2 separate regions of the Homo sapiens genome follow, and region 1 is linked to region 2. The links are contacts of gene promoters, found by promoter capture Hi-C in blood cells and fetal thymus (Javierre and others, 2016). All regions are on one chromosome and are shown on one strand. Each heading gives the region's core, a stretch centred on a gene start or on the middle of the fragment in contact. The rest is flanking DNA. Distances are from core to core; before and after follow the strand shown.

The links. The method cuts DNA at HindIII sites, captures the fragments that hold promoters and counts their contacts. A CHiCAGO score of 5 or more calls a contact.
Region 1: a fragment that was not itself captured here is called in contact with the fragment with the promoter of NAP1L5 in region 2 in 1 of 17 cell types (total CD8 T cells); the score reaches 6.8 in total CD8 T cells.

Annotation. Positions count from the first base shown.
Region 1 is chr4:88,277,121-88,282,487 of GRCh38, reverse strand. PPM1K (protein phosphatase, Mg2+/Mn2+ dependent 1K) reads left to right here. Exons shown (of 7, transcript NM_152542.5): 2 at 3,846-4,344; 3 at 5,245-5,345. The coding sequence starts at 3,905. Among named protein-coding and RNA genes, the nearest start is that of PPM1K, 4.8 kb to the left of the region's middle. The HindIII fragment of the contact is 1,892 bases long and covers 3,172-5,063 here.
Region 2 is chr4:88,696,479-88,703,450 of GRCh38, reverse strand. NAP1L5 (nucleosome assembly protein 1 like 5) reads left to right here and starts at 5,622. Exons shown (of 1, transcript NM_153757.4): 1 at 5,622-6,972. The coding sequence starts at 5,697. The coding sequence ends at 6,245. All of the region lies in intron 23 of HERC3 (HECT and RLD domain containing E3 ubiquitin protein ligase 3), which reads right to left. RefSeq lists an enhancer at 5,473-5,532. The HindIII fragment of the contact is 2,584 bases long and covers 4,903-6,972 here.

The DNA of each region.
Region 1 (5,367 bases), core at 2,868-5,367, 420 kb after region 2:
TTTGGTTTAAGAATATTTAAAAGGGCTGTGTTCTCATTGTGGAAGTTGTAGATACCTAAATGCCACTTCATAATGGGCAGATAGGAATGCTTTCTTAAAATATTTTTTCTAGAGGGATAAAATCTAAGCAGGTTTCAGAACTTTAGAACTCCTGAATAATTTTGGCATGTGCTTAAACTGCCCTTTTGACCTGCTTTTAACATACAAGAACAGTTTAACTCAAATCCAGTGCACCTTCCTGCCAGAGAAAGTGCTTTCCTTTTGGATGACTTGACTTCCAAAGATTGAATATAATGTTAAAATGGTTTATAAAAATAAACTAGCCATGTTTTCCGATCAAAAAATTGACCTAAATCTCCCCTGCTTACTTAAAAAGATTCCTTCTCTCTCTTAGTTTGTGGAATAATGAACTCATCCCAATTTTTAATTGCTGAACTGACAAAAGACAATCCTTAGGTGTTTGCTAGTTTGTTCTCCACTCTTTTTGTTTAGAGAACACTGATTGCTTTTTTTTTTTCCTTAAGGTTTTTGTTTTTCACATCACAAGTTCTACTCCCCTTGCCTTGCTGGTCAAAGCATAGTCATTCCCATGGGCATCGGCAGAGCTGTGGGGTCTATGATGGCAGATCCCAATTGTGGAGTTCTGGAGGAGGAAACTTTTCTTAATGTGCAGGTTTAATTCAAAGTTGTTATTTACTTTGGGAACTCCAGCTGCCTTTGAATTGTTTCTTAGGGAATATGGAGGGGATTGATATGATTTAGTTACATTGCAGATGGAAAAGGACATGGAGCCAGTTCGTAACATCTCGTTTACCTAAGCGATGCCGACCTGTTTGTTTGTTTTTTATAAACTAGCTATATATCTGGGTCACATTTCATCTCTGCCAATAATATGCCTTAAAGTAGGTGGTTTCCTATGACTGCCTGCTTTCTGAGATGATTATAGAAACAATACACGAGGAAGGATGCCAGGTTGATGATTGATTTTAAAATACGCAGGTTTTTAGCCTTACAGAAACTGCTCAATTTGCATTTTATCTCATTTCTTAAAAATGTTTCCAGTGGATATTTGTTCTCTGTGAGAATGCAGTTCTATTTTATTATTTAAAAAAAAATTGGGGGGAGGATAAAGAGGAGATAAAACGGCAAGAATATACTAGAACAGTTGCAGAAAAACTTCAATATTTATTTATTTGTAATTCCAGAACTCTGATTTAAAGTAGGTGCATGACTGCAAAGTAGCTCAAGGCTGAATATGGCATATATACTTTCAGACCGAAGCCAAAAGAATAGTATTTTGCTAATCTCAAGTTAACTCTTCAAATACAAATATTTTCTAATAATTGTATTTCTTTAAAGTTCTTTTTTTTTTCTATATGATATAAAGCTGCTTTGGGAATTATCTCCAAATAATTAGTACTTCCATTACCTGGTAGATTGTATTGTAGTTTGAAGTCTCAATTCATCACCTATAATTAACATAATTGGGTTTTTAAATTTTTTTTAACACACCATTGCTGGCTTGAATCCATAATTGTTGCTGAATAAAATCTAACTCTCAATTAGAAGCAAAAGAACAAACATCTCTTGCAATGGAATGTGTTATTTCTCTCTCTCGCTCTCTCTCTCTTTTTTTAAATAGACAATGTCTTGCTCCATTGCTCAGGCTGGAGTGCAGTGGTGTGATCTTAGCTCACTGCAGCCTCTGCCTCCCAGGCTCAAGCAATCTGTCCACCTCATTTTTGTACTTTTTGTAGAGACAGGGTTTCACCATGTTGCCCAGGGTAGTCTCAAACTCCTGGGCTCAAGCAGTCCTCCCACCTCAGCCCCCTTAGTAGCTGGAACTACAGGCATGCGGAACCACGCCTGACTAATTTTTGTATTTTTAGTGGAGACAGGGTTTTGCAAAGTTGCCCACTGGTCTCCAACTCTTGGCCTCAAGTGATTTGCCTACCTCGGCCTCTCAAAGTGCTGGGATTACAAGTGTGAGCCACCGGGTCCGGCCATGTTAATTCTCTTTGATAACCAGAGATGCTGTGTCTCTGCCACTCTCCAACCCCCCAACAATGTTGTCTTACGAAGAAATGAATTTCAGCCTTCTATGCAGGATCTTGGCCAAAAGGCCAAGAAGGGATGACTTCCTAAGTCTTTGATGATACATTACTTGTTTTGGTGGCCATCTTTATTCTAAATTCTGTGACAGCAGAGCTCATATTTTTTTTAATTGCTTAAATATCTAAAGATTGAGGCCAGTCTCTGTGGCGCATGCCTGTAATTCCAATACTTTGGGAGGCTGAGGTGGGAGGATCACTTGAAGCCAGGAGTTCAAGAGCAGACTGGGCAACAAAGTGAGAACCCATATCTACAAGAAATTAAAACAAATAAACACCTAAGGATGTTCTTTGGAACCTCATTCTTTCTTTTGACTGTTTTACCCACCGAAAGAAGTAATGGCCTTCCCTATACATAGCTAGACTGATTTCCAAAAATTCATTGGAAAGTAATTGTTTGAAATCTGTAGTGCATTTTCTCATAACTGCACTCAAGCTGGGTTTCATTTGTGTATGTTTATACCTTTTGGAAAGATACATTTTTTCAAGTTCATTTTTTATTGTGAAATAATTTAAACATAAGATTGAGAATAATATACTATCTGTAGACCATCCACCAACATCATCAAACCTTAGTATTCTGCCATCTTTTCAAGTTGATTTTAAAAGAATAAAGTAATAGAACAAAATCCTATGGAGACAAATTTTTTATTTGTGTGGAAAATTCCCAGAAACAGCTCTACCTGCAGTGGGGTAGGAGTTCCCCTGGGTAACACCCTGTAATGCCAAGAGAGGTTTTAGGATTGAGTTTCAGGGTGGAGTCCAGAAATGGGGGTGTAAAGTAATCGTTTCAAAGAAGTGTAGTCTCAAGTGTCGTTGGGTTGTTAGGGTTGGGGAAAGGAGAGCTGCAGCTGTGAATGTAAATATATAGATCACTCGTTCAGAAATCAGGGCTGCTTGTCACAAATGCAGTGCTGCCAGGTTCCTGAGATCATACCCACATACCCTCCTAGTGAGAGAGTCTGCTAGGATGGGGAGCATCAAAACTGGCTTATCTTTGTGCCTCTGGGGTGTTTGCACACCAATTTATATTTACCATAGTAATATAGTATGTAAAGCTTAGTAGGTTAAGAAATGTTAAAATAAAACTTAGATTTATCCTAGATTATGTTTTTGTTAAAACTTGGCCATTCTTTGGAAACAGAACTATTTTAAGTATTCTATTAGCCTGTTATTTTTTCCTGAAGAGACTTTGTTGCTATTGTTAATATTTATCCCTACCTTTTCTTTAAAGCAATAGAGTTAATGAAGGGAAGTATATTTATTTATACCTGTATTCTGTGTTCTTGCTACTAGAAGTGTAACTTGGGGACCAGCAGCTTCTGTATCACCAGGGTGTTGGTTAGAAATGCAGAGTGACTCCACCCCATAGCCACTGGGTCAGAACATGCATTTTAACAAGTGATTGCAGGTTCAAGTTTAAGAGATACATGTTCTGTGTATGTGCACACTGTTAAATTTTTATAGAATTTAAATGCTGTGAATGCGGTAGGAAAATCGATTCATTTTTGATCCACTGTTCTTAGAAGCAGGCTACTGGATGCCTACCCAATATATAACATAAATATATGTATTTTCTGTCAAATCCTTTATGAGCTTCATTTTTGGTAATATTTGATGACATATCAGTTATATTCAAAATTTCTGATGGTCTCTCTCTCTCTGTCTCTCTCCCTCTCCTCCTCTGCCCCTCTCTCCCTCTGTCCCCTGTGACTTGCATCATTTTTCTTGAAGACATTCCATTATTGTTCCATTGACCTTTCCCTCATCACTGAGTCCTTTGGAGCTGAGTTATGTCAACAGCTGCCTTAATTACTTTGGTCAGAAGTGGTGGGAACCAGGTGAGAAGGAGAGTGCTGCTAAGCTCCCGCCTGCTGCAGGACGACAGGCGGGTGACACCCACGTGCCACAGCTCCACTTCAGAGCCTAGGTGTTCTCGGTTTGACCCAGATGGTAGTGGGAGTCCAGCTACCTGGGACAATTTTGGGATCTGGGATAACCGCATTGATGAGCCAATTCTGCTGCCACCCAGCATTAAGTATGGCAAGCCAATTCCCAAAATCAGCTTGGAAAATGTGGGGTGCGCCTCACAGATTGGCAAACGGAAAGAGAATGAAGATCGGTTTGACTTCGCTCAGCTGACAGATGAGGTCCTGTACTTTGCAGTGTATGATGGACACGGTGGACCTGCAGCAGCTGATTTCTGTCATACCCACATGGAGAAATGTATTATGTATGTACAATGACTTTCACTCCTGACTTTGCAGTTCCTATACTTCCTACTTAAACTTTCACCCTTTGGCTGAGGCTTCCAGCGTAAACATAGTTACTTGAGTGGTTGCATGCTGCTGCTTCACGAATGAGCAGTAGTTTAAGTGTGCCATTTATTACTTATGGTTATCACAATTTCAGAAATGCATGTTTTAACAACTCCCCTGGGGAAAGCATTAACCAAAATCTATAGCACTTAATTTGTGATCATTTTAAGTGAAGTGGCATAATGTACATGAGATAACCTATGAGAAGCATTTACTCCCATCAGTGTAGGACAGATAAGTGCTTCAGTAAATGGTAATTACTCTTTCAAGTGGTGTGAATAGCTTTGAATACCTGACTTGTTGAAAATAGCTTTGGATGATTGGCATTAGTGTGGAAAAATGCATTTAATGCAGGCATTTTGGAGCTCTTCCGTTTATTTACTTCAACTAGTATTAATGCATTTTTGAGGATCACATTACTGCTAAAATTGAAAGAGGGAGAACATGTGATGGAGTTACGACCATGTGACTATTTTTGACTTCCCAGTGACCATTTCTTGACTTCCTGTGTATACCGCATTCCACGAAAGAACTCACAATGGGAAGGAACTCTCGACCTCTCAGGGTTGTGGTAGTGAGGATCAATTCTTCAAGGACAAGGACTTGGACTTTCATTGTTGTGCCCTTAAAAGCTTATCACAGTGCCTGATACTTTGTGGATTCTCAATAGGTATTCCTTAGCCAGTAGGTCTTCAGCATTTGACAGGAAAATCCTGAGGCCCGTTGTGTGGAATGACTGCTAGCTAGAGTAACAGTGAGGAGAAAAACCTATTGTAAAATGATTGTTTAAGGCTCTTTTTTTCCTCCCCACAAAGGGATTTGCTTCCTAAGGAGAAGAACTTGGAAACTCTGTTGACCTTGGCTTTTCTAGAAATAGATAAAGCCTTTTCGAGTCATGCCCGCCTGTCTGCTGATGGTATGTAAAACTATCACATTCC
Region 2 (6,972 bases), core at 4,373-6,872:
TAGGCAGTTGGTAGGAAGATAAACTGAAATGATGGGAACCATATCGCAACCATGGAAATATATAAAGATCAACCAAATGAGAAGAGCAAAGGCTATTTTTTCAGAGCTGCTATAGCAAGAGAGTCAGCCACTGTCACTTGTGTTGTGGCAGAGACTCAAAATCAAGCAGAGGAGTGGAAAAGCTTTACAGTGGAAAGAGGGAAGGCTTCAGGTACACTCTGATTGGAGGCTGCTAGTCTGGGGAAGCTGCAGGTGGGCTAACTAGAAGTGGGGCATCCTATGTGACTGGTTAAGGGTGTGTATTTGGCTTTCTCTGGTTGGCCCTAAGTTGGAAGTAGGAACAAAAATTAGGGAAGCTGCTGATTATTAATCACATCCTGGCCTATTTGGGCCCACTGTTACAGAAGTTATCGAGACAGATGGCAATCAGGCTGCCTGCAAGTCTGACTTATAGCAGGCTGGCTTCCTGGGCTGCTTATTGCAGATAAGAGGTTGGTTTCCCGGGCAGGTTGCTGCAGATTGTGGGTCTCAGCTCCATGTTTATTTATATATGGCCTGGCCATTGTCCATAGGAATATTCAGTCTCTCACAAGTGGAAATATAAACTGTGAACCTAGACATAAACATTTTGGGGGGAAATTCTGTCAATATCTAGATAAGTTGAAAATGTAAATACCCTTGACCATGCCACTGTGCTAGCGGGTAGGTAATGCAGAGACGCTAACATGTGTGCACAAGAAGATGAGTGCAGGCAAGTTTACTGCAGCATTTTCTTGCAATATAGAGAATTTAGAGAAACAACACTAAACATCCATTAATATGAACATGGACAAGGAAAAGATGGTAGAGTCATATGATGGAAACCATAAAGCAGAGCACTTTGATGGAATTAACTAGATCTAAACTTAGCAAAATGAATAGAATCTCAAGAACAATGCTGAGTGAAAATCAAGTATTTGCATGTTCAGTAAAATATGATGGCATTTATGTAAGTTGTGTTTTAACACTTAAAACAATGCTACTTATAAAAGGTAGTAGCTCTGTCACTCAGAGCTTGTGACCCTTGGGCAAGTTATTTAACTTCTCCATGCCTGTGTCCTCATTTGTAAAATGGGGGAGAGTAAGAGTAGATAACACATGGGACTGCTTTAGGATTAAATGAGTGAATACATGTAAGAGTGCTTAAACCAAGGCTGGTGTATAACAATTACTTTGTAAGTATTAACTAGTATTATCATATTGTTTATGGATATGAGATTTTGCTTATGAGTATGAAATTATAAATATGATGCATACATAAGATGTGTAAGTGTTCATTTTTAAAAACAAAGACATTAATGTAAAAAGATCTTTGTCTAGCCAGGTGCAGTGGCTCATGCCTATAATCCCAGCACTTTGGGAGGCTGAGGCAGGCAGATGGCTTCAGCCCAGAATTCAAAACCAGCCTGGGCAACATGGCAAGACCCAGTCTCCACAAAAAATTAGCCAGGCCTGGTGGTGCATGCCTGTAGTCCCAGCTGCTCAGAAGGCTGAGGTGGGAGAATCACCTGAGCCCAGGAGGTCAAGGCTGCAGTGAGCCATGATCACGCCACTGTACTTCAGCCCGGGTGACAAAGCAAGACCCTATCTCAAAAAAAAAAAAAAAAATCTGTTTTAACATACATGTTTATTATAAAAAGTATAAAAACATAAAAAAAACATATCAAATTCATAAGAGTTTTGTCTGTGTAAGAAAGAAGGGCGGGAAGAGGGGAATGGAATTAAGGGTATGTACAACAGTATCAGTAATTTGGAATTAAGGGTATGTACAGCGGTATCAGTAATTTTTTTCTTTTATTAAAAAATCTGAAGCAAATACCTGTTGACTGTGGATCATATATACAAATGTTTGTCACATTAACTTTTTGTATTTTAGATTAAAAACAATTTTAAAACTTCACATCATGAAGATAGTTATTTACTACTTATCCATCACTGTAATTTAATACTTCATAAAGCTACATTTGAATTATTGGGTTTCCTCCAAGCAGATAGTTTTTACATGTTCACCATCCACACCAATAACTAGCCAACAAATGGTGTAATACAGTGGATAAGTGAGGCAGACAGGGGTTCAAATCCAGGCTCTGCCATCTTCTGTATCTAACTAGTAAGCCTCCCTTTTCCCATTTTTAAAATGGTATAACTGTGCAATCTTTAAAATAAAGCCACTAATGTAAAAAGATTATTGTGCATGTTAATCATTGATGCTGAAAGTTTCTCACACCGTATATAACACCTCACTTCTCTGAAACCCATGACACTAAACTAATGACATTTTTCTGATACAATTACCCAAGAGAAACACCATCACAACAATTTTTATTACAGACTGTGATGGTTAATTTTATAGGTCAACTTGGCTAGGCTATGGCATCCAGTTGTTTGGTCAAACACCAGTCTGGATGTTGTTAAGATATTTTTTTAGTTGGGATGAACATTTAAATTCATTGACTTTGAGTAAAGCAGGTTACCCTCCATAATGTGGGTAGGCCATATCCAATCAGCTGAAGGCCTTAAGAGAAAAAGACTTGAGGTCCTCCAAAGAGGAAAGAATTCTCCCTCCAGACTGTCTTTGGACTCAAGATTTAAATATTAACTATTGCCAGAATTTCTAGCCTTACAGCCTACCCTGCAGATTTCGGGTTTGACAGCCCCCACAATCACATGAACCAATTCTTTAAAATAAATCCCTCCTTGCCCCCACCCCCCTCGGCTTCACACCCTGTTGGTTCTGTTTCTCTGGAGAACACTGACATATAGATTTCGGTACTAAGAAGTACAGTACTACAACAGCAAATACCTAAAAACGCAGATGTGCCTTTGAAATGAGGAAATAGGTAGAGCCTGAAAGAGTTTTGAGGAGCTTGATAGAAAAACCTAGATTTCACTTAAGGGACTATTGGTAGAAATAGCTCAACAGTCTCAGGAAGCAGCCTGAGACTCTCACCATCTACATGCCCAATCTTGAACCTTTTAGCTAGCAGCCTCCGGTCTTCCTTTTTAGCAACACTAAACAGATTAAAGCCACTTTGGGAAACAGTGTGGCAGCTTCTTATGAAGTTAAGCGTACATTTACTGTATGACCCAGCAATCCCACTGCTAGGTGTCTACCCAAGAGAAATAAAAGTCCATGCTCATAGAGAAACCTGTAGATGAATGATCACAGCATTATTCACAATTATGAAAAACTGCAAACACCACAAATGGGAATACTACCCAATAATAAAAAGTAAAATAAAAAATAATAAAAAATAAATTTACTAATATATACAACAACATAAATCAATCTCAAATGTACTCTGCTAGTAAAAAAAAAAAGCCAGGCTCAAATGGCTACATTCATATGATTCAATTTACCTGACATTCTGGAAAAAACAGAGGTACTGAGACAGAGAACAGCACAGTGCTCACCAGGGCTGGATGCTGGGGAAGGGCCACAACGGACTTTTAGGGGACTATTTACTGTTCTATATCTTGATTACTACAGTGCTTACATTACTGTATTTGCTTGTGAAAGCACGCCCAAAAGGACAAATTTTACTGTTATGTAAATGATACCTCAATAAGCCAGACTTTTTAAAAAACAGTCTGGTTTAACACTAAGTTTTAAGATCTGTTGAGACAGGAAAATAAAAATCTTGAAAGATGAACATGCCCTAAATATTTTAAGCAAGTTAAGTTAGTCAAATGAATTTAACCAAAATGTGGGATTTTTTTTTTAAAGTCTGTCACAACATCCATACTATAGGGGTCAAAAGGCCTGTTTTCTGCCCCTGCATCTGCCAATTAAGTGATACATGCAGTAAGATGATTTCACTGTATTTGCTTCTAAGTTTACTATCTGTAAAATGAGAAACATCATTCCTAATCTCAAGGCAGCTGTAGCCATCAAAAGAGATGATATATGGGAGTGAGAAAGAAGGCAGAGAAGATGGTGAGCCAGTAAGAAGATGGTGAGCAGGGTAAAGAAGACGGTTGGGGGAAGGTGGTGAAGACCGTGGGGGAAGGTGGGGAAGAAGACAGATCGTGGGGAAGAAGATGGTGGGCAGGGTGGGGAAGAAGAGGGTGGGGCTGCGTGGGTGGGTGGGGAGGAAGAGGGTGGGGCTGGGTGGGTGGGTGGGGAAGAAGAAGGCGGGGCTGGGGGTGGGTGGGAAGAGGGTGGGGCTAGGGGGTGGGGAAGAAGAGGGTGAAGAGGGTGAGGAAGAAGAGGGTGAGGAGCGTGAGGAAGAAGAGGGTGAAGAGGGTGAGGAAGAAGAGGGTGAGGAGCGTGAGGAAGAAGAGGGTGAAGAGGGTGAGGAAGAAGAGGGTGAGGAGCGTGAGGAAGAAGAGGGTGAAGAGGGTGAGGAAGAAGAGGGTGAGGAGCGTGAGGAAGAAGAGGGTGAAGAGGGTGAGGAAGAAGAGGGTGAGGAGCGTGAGGAAAAAGTTCGGTGGGGGGAAGGTGAGGAAGAAGGCAGTGGGTGAGGAAGAAGGGGGTGAGGAGGGTGAGGAAGGTGGGGAAGAAGAGGGTAAGGAGGGTGGGGAAGAAGAGGGTGAGGAAGGTGGGGAAAAGGACAGTGCGGCGGGGGGAAGGTGAGGAAGGAGGCAGTGAGTGGGGAAGAAGGCGGGGAAGAAGATGGGCAGAAGGTGGGGCATAAGTCAGTGCGGGGGAGGGGCAGGAGGGAGGGAGAAGATGTGGTGTGGAAAGGTGTGAAAACAGATAGTGGGGAAGGCAGGGAAGCAGACGGTGTTGGGGGAAGGCAGGGAAGACGAATGTGAGCGGGGTGGGATAGATGGCACATGCTTTAACCAAGATAAGAGGGGGCCTTGGCCCTGGGCCCCATGCTTTAGAAAGACTTGCTTTTTTTCAGCCCTCCTCAAGCTTTAGTCCTTCCCACAGGCCAAAGATTCTGTAGGATCTTCTAGAACACACACCAGGACACCGGGAGCTCTGAGATTTCCTACCCAAATGGCTCCAAAACTGCTTCCAGGGGAGTCCTGCTGAGAGACGACCTTGCCACCAAGATATATGCCGCTAGGTGTGTGGGATGGCCAAGGGGGTGTTGGGTGGACACATAGGTACAGAGCTTGGATATGCAAGCTGCCCTATCCACACACATGCACCCCAGGTCCCCAAAGGGGTGGAATGGAGCCAGCTTGCCCGTTCCTCCACTGCATGGAGAGGAATGCGGAGGAATCTAAGAGGTGATCAAACGCCAGCTATGGAGAGAGATGCAGAGGAAAGCGAAGACATATGCACTGGCATTTGTAGAAGGGCCTGGATGGGGGTGAGGAGCACACGGAAAATGGTCTGAGGCCATCTATGCAGTTCCTGAAGAAGCACCTCGGGCAGCTACTGACACTCCCAGCCCAGCTCTACAGGGGTGGGTACATGGGTGGGCTGGGAACAGGGTGTCTGTCCAACAGGCGGGTGTTGAGGGCCCAGAAGATGTCAGGGTAGCAACAGGAGGAATCTGGTGCAGTATGAGCACACGGCCGTCAGCTGATAGTGGGAAGCCAGTCAAGTGCCGCGAAAGCAGGAGGCGGGGCCGCGGCCAACGTCATTCCCGCGGCCGCACGTCACCGCCACTTGCCGCATCCGCAAGATCTCTCTGGACCAGCTCGGGTGCAGGGCCTCTGCGGGAGCCCTCCTAGACCTCTGCGGCTTCTCCTCTAACATGGCCGACTCGGAAAACCAGGGGCCTGCGGAGCCTAGCCAGGCGGCGGCAGCGGCGGAGGCAGCGGCAGAGGAGGTAATGGCGGAAGGCGGTGCGCAGGGTGGAGACTGTGACAGCGCGGCTGGTGACCCTGACAGCGCGGCTGGTCAGATGGCTGAGGAGCCCCAGACCCCTGCAGAGAATGCCCCAAAGCCGAAAAATGACTTTATCGAGAGCCTGCCTAATTCGGTGAAATGCCGAGTCCTGGCCCTCAAAAAGCTGCAGAAGCGATGCGATAAGATAGAAGCCAAATTTGATAAGGAATTTCAGGCTCTGGAAAAAAAGTATAATGACATCTATAAGCCCCTACTCGCCAAGATCCAAGAGCTCACCGGCGAGATGGAGGGGTGTGCATGGACCTTGGAGGGGGAGGAGGAGGAGGAAGAGGAGTACGAGGATGACGAGGAGGAGGGGGAAGACGAGGAGGAGGAGGAGGCTGCGGCAGAGGCTGCCGCGGGGGCCAAACATGACGATGCCCACGCCGAGATGCCTGATGACGCCAAGAAGTAAGGGGGGCAGAGATGGATGAAGAGAAAGCCCACGAAGAAAAAAGCCTGGTTTTGTTTTTCCCAGAATATCGATGGACTTAAAAAGGCTCAGGTTTTTGACCAAAATACAATGTGAATTTATTCTGACATTCCTAAAATAGATTAAATTAAAGCAATTAGATCCTGGCCAGCTCGATTCAAATTTGACTTTCATTTTGAACATAATAAATATATCAAAAGGTGTTAAAGAAAACTGAATTAAACCCAAAATTATGTTTTCATGGTCTCTTCTCTGAGGATTGAGGTTTACAAAGGGTGTTAGCAGATGCGAAGTAAAGAACGTCACTTTGAAACCCATTCATCACACAGCATACGCTACACATGGAACACCCAAGCCATGACTGAACACGTTCTCAGTGCTTAATTCTTAAATTTCTTTACTCATGACATTTCGCAGTGCAGAGAAGGCAGAACCCAAGAAAAACGTCATCTTTGAGACTTTGCTTTTGTAACGCAGACATCAGCTTTACACTTCACAGGAGATTGATGGCATTGAGGAAGATTGCAATGGAGATCATGACACTACTGTTAATAAGGCCAGGAAAACTGCCATTTCAAGTTCTGAAAAATGTTTTGAGTATTTGAATTTAGAGAAACAACATGGTTCCAAGAAGGAGGGTGTAAAACCTGTAAAATACTGTCAACATATGTATTCATTAGTTACAATCTCATGTTTGTGTTTTCTTAGT